Regions from separate parts of the Homo sapiens genome. Here regions 2, 3 and 4 are each linked to region 1. The links are contacts of gene promoters, found by promoter capture Hi-C in blood cells and fetal thymus (Javierre and others, 2016). All regions are on one chromosome and are shown on one strand. The core of a region is centred on a gene start or on the middle of the fragment in contact, and the rest is flanking DNA. Distances in the headings are between cores, read along the strand shown. Region 1 holds the start of AZIN2 (antizyme inhibitor 2). Region 2 overlaps S100PBP (S100P binding protein). Region 3 has its middle 18 kb from the start of TMEM54. Region 4 overlaps RNF19B (ring finger protein 19B).

Region 1 (3,460 bases), core at 613-3,112:
GAAAGGGGTAAAGAGGGGAGAGGCTGAGAGAAGGATGCTGCAGGCAGAAGGAACAGCCTGGGCAAAGGCATGGTAATAGCATCATTGGGCACACAGCATCATTGGGAAATGCAAATTGAGTCATTCAGCTCCGAAGGAGCATAATATATACTGTGGGGAAAGCTGGGAATGGGGCTATGGAGGCAGGGAAGCTCTGACTTGATCCTGTAGGCAGTGGAGAATTGCCAAATTCAGATTTTGAACAGGACTATGATACCTTTGGAGGGGGTGGCATGAGACCGGGAGATCAGGGGGCCTTTGGAGAGAGGAAGACTGAACTAGAAAGCGAGGTTCCACATAAGCACACTGGAGGCTTATTTAAGGAGGCAGAATTCACAGAGCTTGGTAATGCCTAGATGTGGGCGGTGAGGGAGAGGGGGCAGCAGGAAAGGAATCCCCCGTTTCTGACCTTGGAGGGCTGGGTAAAAAGGCAACATAGGAGGGGCAGGTTTGGGGGCAAGGACAAAGAATTGGGGATAAATTGAGCCCCTCTCTTGCAAATAGCAAGGATTGCGTACCAAATAAGCGAAAGGATAAGATGAGGGCCCTAGGGACCCTTCCTGAGGAGGCAGCTGATCTGTACAGGGGACCGGGGACCCACCCCCATTCCCAGCCCCTCACCGTGGTGGCCTGTGAGGCCCCCAGAGTGAGTTCCTTCAGCAGGTCTCGGGTACTGAAGCCCTCCTCCACCATCACAAAGTCCGATTCACTCAGGTAGCCAGCCATGCCTTGCAGGAGGAGCTGACGGGCTGGATGGAGCCGCTGCTGCAGCCGCCGCCTTAGAAAGTATGCAACACACTGCGGGGCGAGGGGAGATGAAGGGAACCGCTGGGGGGCCGGCTCTGCTGCCCCACTCGCCTCCCGAGGCCAGGGATCCCAATCCCGTCACAACCCGCCCCCAGCACAAGCCCGGGGTTCACTGGGCAAGGGTGGAGAAAGTCAAGAATCCCGGATTTCAGACGGAGACAAGGCACCGTATGCCCAAATGTCACTGCCTCTCCGAGTCAGTTGCTCCCTCTGTAAAATGGATGAATTGTTTTGGAGAGCCTTCCCAGTTCTGAAATTCTGGATTTCAGGAAAGAGTGAGAGAGAGATGGAACAGAAAATCTGAGAAACTTGGGTGGGGAAGTTTCCAGGGCGCCCCCAGTCTTGACCACGCCCACCTAGAGGGTAGCCGGTGGCCACATCAAGGCGTCTCAGCCTAAGAGCAAGAGCTTAAGTTCGAGTCCGCTCTCTACTGCTTGACCTCGGGTACCCTCTGACCCTTTCGGAGCCGCAGTTTCCCCAATTGTAAATGGGGGCTGGACTGATCCTGAGGTGCTAGAATTCTAGGCGTGCCTGGGGACGCCACGCGGTGGGTGGGGGCCGCAAGCTCCTGGGAGAGAACGGAAGGCCGAGGTTTTTTCTGTCCGAGTGACTCCTACAGAGTGCAGGGCTGAGGTCCCCCCAACCCCCAGGGCCCCTTACCAAACTCCGTCCTCCTTCGCGGGGGCCAGAGCCAGGCGCGCTGCTAGGGGGGGTCGCCGGTGACCTCGAAACTTGTGCAACACCCCGAGGAGGAGTGGCAGTTGCGGAGCCGAGGCCTCTGCTGACAGGAGGCAGAAGGGGCAGGGAGGCAGGTCAGCACCAGGGCGGAGGGCGTCCGCTCCCCGAGGCTCCCCAGGCCACTTTCCGCACTCGCCTTAAAACGCATTTACACGGCTTCGGCCCATAGGTCTCCCCAGGGAGTGAATCGGATCCTCGGCGCCTCCGCTCTCTCGCTTCCCCGGGCTCGGGTCCCGCGGCCTGCGCCCCGCCAGCCCAGCAGCCACAGACCCCCACGCCCCGCCTTCCGCCCGCCGCTGGCTTATATAACCCCGCCCAGGCCCCGCCCATAGTGCCGAGGCCCTACCTCCGCTTGGCCGTAGCCCTGGCAACCGGGTGCCGCCATCCCATTGGTCGATTCCGACATAAAGCATTCAGCTCTGCTCGCCCTTACTGTAGTCTTCTCCCCCGGAGGCCTGGCGGTGGCTACCTCACGCTGGAAGTCAGAACTACAGGGCCGCCGCCACGCAGGTGAGACACTTAGACCCTGCATCTTAGGTCTTAGAGAGTGGGCAGGACCAGGAAGCCTTTTCTGCCTCTGCCTCAACTTACTTCGTGGTCCAGCTCTTGTCTGCGTCAGGAACTGCTCACTCATCTCTCGAAACCCGGTTCCAATGACATGTCCTTGTATTACTTTTGTAATAAAATTCTTTTTATTTAATTGCCTCTTCCAGGCATCTTCCCCGACTCCAACTCAAAACGCATCTAAAATGTCTTCAGAGAACCTTTTTGTGACTTTCCCAGTTCAGGGCAATCCCTCCCTTTATCCCATCCTGTGAACCCGGCAAACTCTTACTCATCTCTCAATAGAAATGTGTCTCCTTCTCCAAGAAGCTTTCCCGGACTTCCTCAACTCAAAGCATTTCTTCTATACCGAAAGCTGCTGCTCACCCATCAAAGTCCTGTATAATGTCACCTCTGTTGAACCTTCCATGACTTGCCTGGCCCCAAGGAACACAGCATTTAGTCTGTCTGGACCCCTCACTCATTTGGTTCTTGTTACCCATAGCGTGAGATTCCTGTTGTTATTTTACACTTCTTGTTTGGTTACACTTTGCATCTAGTTTGTGATTTCCCAAGGGCAAGGACTGAATACCCTGCTCAAGAGCCTGGTGCCTGGCATAGACAAGAATGCTGAGGAAGATTCAATAGCTGTGTTACTCAAAAGCTGATATAAAAGTTCATCTGGAAAAGTAAGTGTACAAGAACAGTCAAGACACTCTTTTTGCCCAGGCTGGAGTGCAATGGCACGATCTCAGCTCACTGCAACCTCTGCCTCCTGGGTTCAAGCGATTCTCCTGCCTCAGCCTCCCAAGTAACTGGGATTATAGGCGCATGCCACCACGCACAGCTAATTTTGTATTTTCAGTAGAGATGGGGTTTCACCATATTGGCCAGGGTGGTCTTGAACTCCTGACCTCCAGTAATCTACCCGCCCCGGCCTCCCAAAGTGCTGGGATTATAGGCGTGAGCCACCGCGCCCGGCCAAAACTACAGTCTTTAAAACAGTATGGTGCTGGAGCAGGAAGAGACAGTGGTAAAACAGAACAGGGTCTACAACAGTCCCATATACATTGGAGATTGGTACACAATGGAGGCAGCATTTCAAATCAATGAAGCCAAAGGGCTTTTGGTCTACCATATGTCTTCATGTCCCCTGCTAGGCTGTGGGCTTTTTTTTTTTTTTTTCTCTTTTGAGACAAGATCTGGCTCTGTCACCCAGGCTGGAGTGCAGTGACATGACCTCAGCTCACTGCAACCTCCACCTCCCAGGCTCAAGTGATCCTCCAACCTCGGCCTCCCAAGTAGCTGGGACTACAAGTGCATGCTACCATAC
Region 2 (3,460 bases), core at 300-2,799, 230 kb after region 1:
AGTTACTATGCCCAGCTGAGAAGCACACTTTGAAAATCAAAGCCCTAGACAGTGGAGACTTTTCAGCTCGTTTACATGTTTTTCATTACCTTATCTACTGTGCTTTCGGGAATCAAAAGCAGTCTCAGTAGGCTACAGACTCATATTTTCAAGTTCTAGTAAAAGTAATGTCACTTTTAGGATAAATGTAATTTATTTGAAGCCTCAAAAAGTAGAGCTTTGTAGAGAAAGTATACTGTATACTTTGGAGTTAGGCAGAGTTGAGTTAAAATTCCAATCCATCAATTAGCTCTGTGACCCTGGGCAAATTATTTCACTTCTTCAGGGCTCACTACTCATCTATGAAAAGCAGATAATACAATTTAGCTTGAAGCTGAGTTTTAGGAATATTGAACGTAAAAGACCTAGCACATTGCTATGGCACACAGCGTGTGTGCAGTGAGTGGTAGCTATTATGATGTTAGCACCTCAGGTCTATGTTAGCTTGCAAAGACTCTGCAAATCCTGTGAAATTTTAAGGAAAAACGTTTATTAAATGGATCCATCCACACATAAACTATGACATTTTATGGCACTCAAATATTTTTCTAACCATAACACTTTTTAGGAAAAATTTATAGATTTCATTAAAAGTTTCTCTACTGTTAAAAAAGCACGACCAAATGAAACATAATTGACAAAATGAAAAATATATTTGAAACATACTTGGCAAAAGTTTAATGTCCTTTATCTACAGTCTCTTTATTTTTTAAAAAAGGTCAAGGGCATGAATAGACAACTTGCAAAATTATTACAAGTGATCAATAAACATGATAAAAACAATGTTCAATCTCATTCATGGAAAGAAAAGGCATTACTGTCACTCCTTGAGAAGGAAAAATAAATCAGAAATGAGTTTCCTCATGAAGGGAAGTAACTCTTGATTAGAAAATTCCTTACCTGCTGGATTTGTAAAGCTAAAATCAAAGGTCTCAATTCAAATTGCCTTTCCAATACCCCACTTTCACCTCGCTAGCACTCCACTCCCTGTGGTCACCCAAAAAGGACATTTCAGTGGGAGGCAGGGGAGGGGAGAATCAGCTTTATAAAAATTTCAAGATACATTTTTCCTACCAAAGCTTCACAAAGGAGGGCTAGCAATATATGGAAATTCTGTGTCCATCAAAATGGAACCACAAGATTATCTATAGAACATGTCCTTCAGCTCACTCATTTCTTATCACCTGCATTTTAGAAAATTAATCTGGCAATGGAAACTAAAGATAATAAATCTAAAAACATATCTATTCACATTAAATGATGAGAAGAATAGCCAGTTAGCCAAAGGGGCCTAATATTCAAATATTTAACTTCTAGGAATCAAATCCAGCAGCAGCAATTTATATAACATTATATATCAAGCCTGTTTAAATAAATAAATAAAGGCACTGTCCTATGTGCTAGTTTATATATATCAACTCATTTATTCTTTACAACAATCCTATAAGGTATTTTCCCCGCTTTACAGACAAAAGTATATAAAACTGTAAAGAAACCGAGGCACAGAAAAGTTAACTAATTTGCCCAAAGTCACATGTCTAATGACAAAGCCAGAATTCCAACAATATAAAACTATCATAGGATTGACTTTCCTTAAAAAATTTTCTGGGAGCAACATTTCATAGTTGAGATTAGAAAGTAAAAATCATATAGCCATATGTCTCTTGTAAACAATGGCTCAATAATTAGATCTCAGCTCATGTACCAAAAAATTTTAATTTTCCTTAGCACTAATAACTAACTTATTGTTAGACTAGCCTAACTCTTATTATGAATAAGACTTAATGATCTAGAGATAATGGGAGCTAACATTTATCAAGCACTTCTTACGTGCTACGTACTTTGCTAACTGCTTTGCATGTATCCTACAATTTAATTCTAACAATCACAGATGGCAAACTCTATAACCTCCATTTTATTCACAAGTAAACTGAAGCTTAGAAAAAAATACTTTCCCAGCACTTTGGGAGGCCGAGGCAGGCGGATGGCTTGAGCCCAGGAGTTCAAGACCAGCCTGGGCAACATGGTGAAACCCCGTCTCTACAAAAAGTACCCGGGTGTGGTAGTACACACCTGTAGTCCCATCGACTCCAGGGGGCTGAGGTGGGAGGATCACCTGAGCCCATGAGGTGGAGGCTGCAGTGAGCCATGATCATACCACTGCACTCCAACCTGAGTGACAGAGCAAGACACTGTCTCCAAAAAAAAAAGAAAAAAAAAGAAAGAAAAGATACTCATCTATCATCTAGTAAATCAGGAAAGCCAGGATTCAAACCCAGGTGGGGCTAATAATCCAAAAACCTCATTTTAGCTTATAGTTTGAACCTCATCTTCCTCCAAATTTAGAGATGCTAACAAGAATGGGAACATTTGAATTTTCTCTTCTCTTCATAGTCTCTAACAGATGGGCTTTCTTGGACCAACAATCAGTACCATGGGTTTATTTTAAGTTGTGGCAAAAAGGTGGTAAAGACTGTCCTTTGTTTTGTGACTAAGAATGAAATAAAGGAGGGAAAAACCCCCAATATTTCAGGAATGACGTCAACAATTCATCTAAATCTTAATCTATAAATATGAAGGTGACTGGTTTTGGGGAAACATCCAGTTTAATAACTGTTCTTAGTAAGTTTAAAGTGAATCAATTTTTATATCATAATGGAGGAGGACGGATAATGCTGAGTACCTGCTATGCCAATTCTGACAGGTTTTATAGGACATAATACTTTTTACCACCCACATGACCCTAACTCAATCAAGTGTGGCACATGACCAAAGAACAGAGACTCTCTCAGCTGGCTAATGACATAATGACCTAGAAGGCTGCCTGGTACCAGCAGGTCATTAAGTAAACCAATCAGATACTCTTCTTTGAAATGTCAATGTGAGCTTTAGTAATGAGAACAAGAGAGAACAGTACACATGCAGGGCTCTAGGAAAAACAGTTACTTGAGATAGCTAAATAGCAGCAAAAGTACTGGTCACAGAAGCAGATTAGATTAGGGAAAATCCCAATAGGGAACAGAGGCACTCATTTCTTTTTTCTTTATTTTTTTTTGAGACGGAGTTTCGCTCTTTTGCCCAGGCTGGAGTGCAGTGACTCGATATTGGCTCACTGCAAACTCTGCCTTCCGGTTTCAAGCAATTCTCCTGCCTCAGCCTCCCGAGTAGCTGGGATTACAGGTGCCCGCCACCATACTCGGCTAATTTTTGTATTTTTAGTAGAGATGGGGTTTCACCATCTTGGCGAGGCTGGTCTCGAACTCCTGACTTCATGATCCACCCACCTTGGCCTCCCAAAGTGCTGGGATTACAGGTGTGAGCTGCAGCACCTAGTTAGAGGCACACATTTCTGACGGAGCGTGTAGTTCGGCTCTACGGTTAATTCTTTTCACTACGAGACCTGGTGAAAAGTCTCATCTAA
Region 3 (3,460 bases), core at 271-2,770, 160 kb after region 1:
AGTGGACCTGAGCTGACCTGGCTTCATGAAATCACTGTGATCTAGGTCACGTAAGTCCAATGAGGCCAGCCCTGCCAACCTCACTGTAGCTGACTGGACACAGGATTTGGGCCCGAGCCATTTGCTGCCTTGGACAAGCTGGATGTGATGGAGGCCAATGCCTGTGTGAGACTGTCTGGTATGGGAGACATCGATGCTGGGAACATGCCCAGAGGGCATGGGGCCAGAGCACAAGTCTATCCCAGTTCCTGTTCTCCGGGGACTTGCTGGACGCTGCTGAGAGGGCTTCCCCAATAACCTCACTTCCTCTGTGTCCTTATTGTAGCCACCATCACTGAAAGTCCTCTGAGCCTGGCTCTTCCTTGCATACCTAAAGGAGCTCGAGAACATACCCAAACGTGGCCCTTGATTTTTCTGGGAATCACATAGCTAGATCAAAAAAAGAAGTAGCCGGCACAGTGGCTCATGCCTGGGATTACCCAGCATTTTGGGAGGCTGAGGCGGGCCTTGGAGATCAGGAGTTCAAGACCAGCCTGGCCAACATGGTGAAACCCCGCCTCTACTAAAAATACAAAAATTAGCTGGGTTTGGTGGTGCACGCCTGTAATCCCGGCTACTCGGGAGGCTGAGGTAGGAGAATCGCTTGAACCCGGAGGTTGCAGTGAACTGAGATTGAGGCACAGTACTCCAACCTGGGCAACAGAGTGAGACTCTGTCTCAAACAAACAAACAAAAAAGAACGAGTTTCCTTCTCAAAAGGGATGGTCTTCAGAATGAGAAGATATAAAATGCCTGTTCCAAAACAGATGGCTGATAAATATCAGTCTTCTCCTCCCCTTCCTTGCTGTGCGGTTTCAGTCCTCTGAGGCCACATGTGACATCACTCTGAGATGTTACAAGGCTAAAGAACACAACCAAAGCAAACCTGAATTGCCTGGAATTCCAAATGAGTAGAGACTGCTTTCTCCTGGGGTTCCTAAGCTGAGAAGATGTAAGCATGAATCTTCCAGAGAACAGAGACTACCTAATATTGCAACTCACAGAGGAATGTGGAGCTGAGAAATTGAAAAAGAAAGAGAAAGAAACACCATTTGATTACACTAGATGACATCATTTTAATGCCAGGATCTAACCATGCCTAAAGCCCCTGAACGTTTCAGTAACATAATCCAACAAATGTCTTTCCCCTTATCCAAAGCCCATTTCAGTTAGGATTCTGTCATCTGTAACTAAAGAAGTTGACTAATACAGGAAGTGGGATACTCCTAGTGCTGGCCCCTCACACTTGGAGTTGGCTGAGTTGAGGTGGGTTATAGAATGGTGAGGATTTCCCAATCCCAGGCTGGGAGGCGGGTGTACCCTGAGATGCAGCTGCACATCCAGAGTGTCCTGAAACTCAGATCATGCACCCAGCAGAGGTGGGAACTTTAGAGGGCTTCACAGAAATACGTCAATGTGCTGGCTATTTTCCCAAATCTTCAATTCAGAGTCCAGAAATAGACAAATTTTGCAGAGAAAATAATAATAAAAGCTAACATTTGGCCTGGCACGGTGGCTCACACCTGTAATCCCAGCACTTTAGGAGGCGAGGTGGGTGGATCACGAGGTCAGGAGATCAAGACTATCCTGGCCAACATGGTGAAACCCCATCTCTACTAAAAATACAAAAAATTAGCTGGGCGTGGCGGCACGTGCCTGTAGTCCCAGCTACTCAGGAGGCTGAGGTAGGAGAATCGCTTGAACTAGGGAGTCAGAGGTTGCGGTGAGCCGAGATCGCGCCACTGCATTCCAGCAGCCTGGCGACAGAGCAAGACTCCGTCTAAAAAAAAAAAGCTAACATTTATGAGACACTCACTATGTGCCAGACACTATATTAAGACCTTTACACATATTAATTCATTTATTATTTTTCTTTTCTTTTTAAATAAAATGAGATGGGGGTCTCGCTGTGTTGGCCAGGCTGGTCTCAAACTCCTGAGCTCAAGTAATCCTCCCACCTCGGCCTCCCAAAGTGCTGGGATTACAGGCGTGAGCCACCATACCCGGCCCATGTAATCCTTAAAATAACATAAATAAGTGGGTACTATTTTATTTTCCATTTTACATTTGAGGAACTGAAGCACAGAATAATTGCCCAAAGTCTTACAGCTAGATGGCCGTTGAGCTATGAACTTGAATCCAGGCAGCCTGGCCCCTGAGCTTGTGCTCCCACAGCTCTGCTCAGAGAGGCTGCCCATAGCCAACAATCCAAGCTGATTCAGTGTCCGATGATCGTGTGCTTTGCAGGACTGAAAATGCTCATCTTGGCCAGCCACGGTGGCTCATGCTTGTAATCTCAGCACTTTGGGAGGCCAAGGCGGGCAGATCACAAGGTCAGGAGTTTGAGACCAGCCTGGCCAACATGGTGAAACCCAGTATCTACTAAAAATACAAAAATTAGCTGGGCATGATGGCAGTTGCCTGTAATCCCAGCTACTCGAGAGGCTGAGGCAGGAGAATTGCTTGAGCCTGAGAGGTGGAGGTTGTAGTGAGCCGAGATCGTGCCACTGTACTCCAGCCTGGGCGACAGAGGGAGACTCTGTCTCAAAAAAAAAAAAAACAAAAAAACAAAATTGCTCATCTGTTCATGTCAAAGTTAAAGTGAATGGGAGCAAAGGCAGGGAGGCAGGAAACACACCCCTCCCAAGCCCTTCTGACCTGTCCCACTAAGAGGAAAATGACCCTTATGTAAAGAGCCTTCCACACAGTGAGAGCAGCCAGCTGTGCCCCCACCCCCATGCCTGGTGTTCACATTGCTCCAAGGCAGAGGTGAAGACAGAAGCCTTAGGGATCTGAGTACTGGGAGGTTTCCGTTGCTAAGAGAGACATCCTCCCTCTCCCTAGCAAATCAAGATCAAAGTCTAGATTCAGGGACCATAATTTACAATTCTTCTGACTCAGTTATTAGCCCATGGTCTTACCCAAATGCAAATAAGTCAGAAACCTTACATGTCTTTTTATTTTATTTTACTATTATTTTTATTTTAAAAATTTTTTTAGAGACAGGGTCTCACTCTACCACCCAGGCTGGGTGCAGTGGTACAATCACGGCTCACTGCAGCCTTGACCTCTAGGTTTAAGCAATCTTCCTGCCTTGACCTCCTGAGTATCTAGGACTACAGGTGTGTGCCACCATGCCAGATTTTTTTACTTTTTGTAGACACAGGGTCTCACTACATTGCCCAGGCTGGTCTTGAACTCCTGGCCTCAAGCGATCTTCCTGCCTCAGCCTCCTAAAGTGTTGGGATTACAGATGTGATCCACTGCGCCCGGCTAAACTTACACATCTTTTAATAGAGTGGTCTTGCCAGAGAAACCCCAATCCTGGCAAGTGGAAGCCTGTGACTGCTGATCAACCGCTAAGGCAATGTCTTGGCCCCAAAGAGTACCCACAGGAAATCCTCAAAACCCTTCTACGGTG
Region 4 (3,460 bases), core at 667-3,166, 140 kb after region 1:
GATTACAAGCATGAACCACCACACCCAGCCCATCATGGTTTATTGATAGTGGGCTTTGGGGATTTTTTTTTGTTTTTTTTCTCACTGTGTCATCCAGGCTGGAATGCAGTGGCACAATCATGGCTCACTGCAGCCTCAACTTCCTGGACTCAGGCAATCCTACCACCTCAGCCTCCTGAGTAGCTAGGACTACAAGTGCACACACCACACCCAGCTAACATTTTAAATTTTTTGTAGAGATGGGGTCTTGCTCGGTTACCCAGGCTGGTCTTAAACTCCTGGCCTGAAGCCATCCTCCCAACTTGGCTCCCAACGTGCTAGGATTATAGGCATGAACCATTGCCCCCAGCTGGTTTAGTGATACTGCAATCCTTATTACCTTTCTATTTCCATTTGCTAGATAAGGAAAATCAATTCTATGTACTTGTGTTGAAAATATGTAAAGCTTTGTAACTAAAAAGATTGTGACTTGCTTGGTCATTTCACTAGTTAGGCAGACCAGAGTGTATATTTTCAGAGGAGCATAACATGTTGCCTGAGAAGCAGTTGAATGCAACGGAGAAGAAAGGCCTAGGGAGGGGTAAAGGTAGAACAAAGCAGGATAGGAAGGTAGAGGAGATGGTTGCCTTCAGCTATCCAAAGGACCTTCAACTGTGAAAAGGATTAGACTTCTATGCCTCATACCAAAAGGTAGATTAAGATGACTTGGCAGAAGCTAAAGGGAAACTAATTTTGGTTCAGTATAGAGAATATAGGGAAAAGCAACATGAAAGCCCAAAGAGGAAAAAGGCTACTTTAGTAGATACTGAGCTGCCTATCCCTGGAAATGTTTACAATGAGACCAGATGGCTATTTGGCTATAAGAAGGATTCAAGCAACAGATGGCAGGTGGACTGGATCTCCCACCTGAGTGCCTGTCAATCACTTGGGAGCCTCTTAAAAATAGACTTCAGGGACCCATCCCAGAATGAGTAGCTTAGAATTTCCTGGAGTGGCACCTAGGGGGTGATCCGTGTTTTGCAAAAGCTCCCCAGGTAATTCTAGCACAGCCGTTGCATGAACCAGCATCTGACAACCACCTAAGTAGGAGCCCTTTCTGAAAGACTCTTCCAACTCAGAGTGATTCTGTGGCAGACCTGAAACTAGAAGCCAGGTCTCTGACACTGTGCACTTTCCATTGCATTCCCTCATTTCCCTGGGCCTTGGCACATTTTTGAAGGGCACCTGAAGCTGGAGCAGCAAAGCAAAGGCTCAGGCAGTAGGATGGAAGCTGCTTGAATGTGCAGCTGCAGGCTGCTACTGACCCGTCTGTGCATCTCATGACTCTGGTTGTCTCTTATCAGGGGATCCCGCCCCCACATGCTGGCATATTCACTGCTGTGCTTTCTTAAAACCAACACCCCTGTAAATAAGCAGACAGACATAATTGGAGACTGACTTGCTGAAACTGCAGCTTAGCCAGTCCAGCTGTTCTAGTTCTGTGAAAGCCTTTATTTTATAGGAAGTGAATGAGTCAGATGGGTTTGACTGTGAAACCCATTATAAGGAAATACTTAACTGTGCAACAAAGTGATGTTGGAGCCAAGAAAGGCAATAGTTATGGGCTCTGAGACACTATTGGGAAAGTTTGCTGCTCCAAGAGGAGGGAAGAGGTTGGCTCCTGTATGTCCTTCAGTCTCATTCCCTGGAGGTAATTTGATTGTTAAATGTTTGATTTCCTATTATGTGCAAGGCAGGGAAGGTAAAGTGTGTATGAGTTGTGGTCTCTCCTTTTGTGGAGTTAACAGACAAGTGAGAGATGCATAATAATAAGTAGGCAGGGCCTGCGCACGCCTGTAATCCCAGCACCTTTTTTAGGTGGGTGATCACCTGAGGTTTAGAGTTCAAGACCAGCCTGGCCAACATGGTAAAACCCCATCTCTACTAAAAATACAAAAATTAGCTGGGTGTGGTGGTGGGAACCCATAATCCCAGCTACTTGGGAGGCTGAGGCAGGAGAATCGCTTGAACCTGGGAGGCAGAAGTTGCAGTGAGCCAAGATCGTGCCACTGCACTCCAGCCTGGGTGACAGAGTGAGACTCCCTCTAAAAACAAATAATAATAAATAAGTAGGCAGGTGCTGTGGGAGTACTTAGCAAGAAGTGAATGGTTTGCTGGGATAATGAGGGGAAGTGATAGTTCCTTTGTTGTTAAGGACTGAGTATAAGTTTGTCTGGTAGAGAAAGGAAATTTCTAGAGAGACAGAATAGCATGTGCAAAGTCATGGAAGTATAAAATGTATAGGTATTTAAAGAAAGAAAGAATTCAGAGTGACTATGATTTCGGATCTATAGGGAGTGATAGAACTGGACAGAGAGCTTCCTGGCAGATCAGGAAGACCTTAATGCCTGTTGGCAGTAGGGAGCCAAGAGTTAGAGAATTGTTAGAGTGATTGGGTCTTTATTCACACTGGCACTGTTCTAGAGGTTGTTTGACTTGGACTTAAGGGCTACTGGAGAGGGAGCCCAGTTTTAGTCATCCAGGCAGGAGATGATGAAAACCTGAAGTTCAGCAGTAGCTGTGGGGATAGAAAGGAGGGGACGATTTCAATAGATATTTAAGAGAAAAAATGTATGGGCATCTATTTGCGCTGTTTGACAGTTGGAGAAGATCAGACAGACAACCACAATTTGCAAGAGAGTAATGGAAGAGATGTGTGCCAGGAAGCAGACTGTCTTGGAATACCCAGGTCTCATATTAACTTGAACGTCCCCTCTTTACACAGGTTAGAAGTTCAAGCCGATGTCCAAAAGGAAATTTTCCCCAAAGACACAGCCAGTCTTGGTGCAATTAGTGACAACGCAAGCACTCGTGCTATGGCCGGTTCCATAATCAGTTCCTACAACCCACAGGACAGGTATGTGAACAGTCAGATGTCCAGGAGAGGTTGCATTTTTTCGTTGGGTACTAGGTCTTCAGAAGTTCAATGCCTCATGTTAGGGCTGTATGTACCATCTCCTGGGATATATAGTGTAACCTGTGAATTCATTTGAGCAAGTTCTTGGTACTTGAGTGTTTGGCATCTCTTGATTCTTCTTGTTAGCGCTTGATTTTTAGAGATTTCTTTTCTTTCTTCCTTTTATGTATTTTTTCTTTTTTTTTTTTTTTTTTTTGTCTTTCTTGGCTATTGCAACAGTGTATAATTACATGGAACTTAAAGAGCTAGATTGATGTTCATTGATGTCTTCAAGTCTAGGGTTTCTGCTTGCCCTTTGCTTGATAGGATTCCCATAGCTTCTTTCTCTTTCATTTTGAGAAACTGGTGTATCTGGGATGGTGTGATTGTGGTACTCCCACTAGTAGGTATTCTGGCTTCTTCTACTTGTGGCATGGTAGTAAAAAGCTTTTACTTTTCTATTTTGAGTAAGCTAGCATGGGGCTCTGACCCTTAGTTGAATTTTGGAAGCTCTTTCTGTATGTT

What was found. The method cuts DNA at HindIII sites, captures the fragments that hold promoters and counts their contacts. A CHiCAGO score of 5 or more calls a contact.
Region 2: a fragment that was not itself captured here is called in contact with the fragment with the promoter of AZIN2 in region 1 in 9 of 17 cell types (M0 macrophages, endothelial precursors, M1 macrophages and 6 more); the score reaches 10.7 in M0 macrophages.
Region 3: a fragment that was not itself captured here is called in contact with the fragment with the promoter of AZIN2 in region 1 in 5 of 17 cell types (neutrophils, M0 macrophages, erythroblasts and 2 more); the score reaches 8.2 in neutrophils.
Region 4: a contact is called between a fragment that was not itself captured here and the fragment with the promoter of AZIN2 in region 1, in 16 of 17 cell types (total CD8 T cells, naive B cells, activated CD4 T cells and 13 more). The highest score is 13.2, in total CD8 T cells.

The regions. Positions count from the first base shown.
Region 1 is chr1:33,079,555-33,083,014 of GRCh38, reverse strand. It overlaps AZIN2 (antizyme inhibitor 2), which reads right to left and starts at 1,862. Exons shown (of 12, transcript NM_052998.4): 1 at 1,721-1,862; 2 at 1,507-1,627; 3 at 1,203-1,414; 4 at 661-837. The coding sequence starts at 765. It overlaps LOC105378635 (a long non-coding RNA gene), which reads left to right and starts at 2,019. Exons shown (of 3, transcript XR_947163.2): 1 at 2,019-2,094; 2 at 2,688-2,816. RefSeq lists a silencer at 1,641-1,900. The HindIII fragment of the contact is 16,354 bases long and covers 1-2,459 here.
Region 2 is chr1:32,847,941-32,851,400 of GRCh38, reverse strand. The region is part of intron 5 of S100PBP (S100P binding protein); the gene reads right to left. Among named protein-coding and RNA genes, the nearest start is that of FNDC5, 21 kb to the left of the region's middle. The HindIII fragment of the contact is 857 bases long and covers 1,121-1,977 here.
Region 3 is chr1:32,917,732-32,921,191 of GRCh38, reverse strand. No RefSeq gene overlaps it. Among named protein-coding and RNA genes, the nearest start is that of TMEM54, 18 kb to the right of the region's middle. The HindIII fragment of the contact is 4,307 bases long and covers 1-3,460 here.
Region 4 is chr1:32,937,833-32,941,292 of GRCh38, reverse strand. It overlaps RNF19B (ring finger protein 19B), which reads left to right. Exons shown (of 9, transcript NM_001300826.2): 8 at 2,765-2,896. Among named protein-coding and RNA genes, the nearest start is that of RNF19B, 25 kb to the left of the region's middle. The HindIII fragment of the contact is 2,937 bases long and covers 448-3,384 here.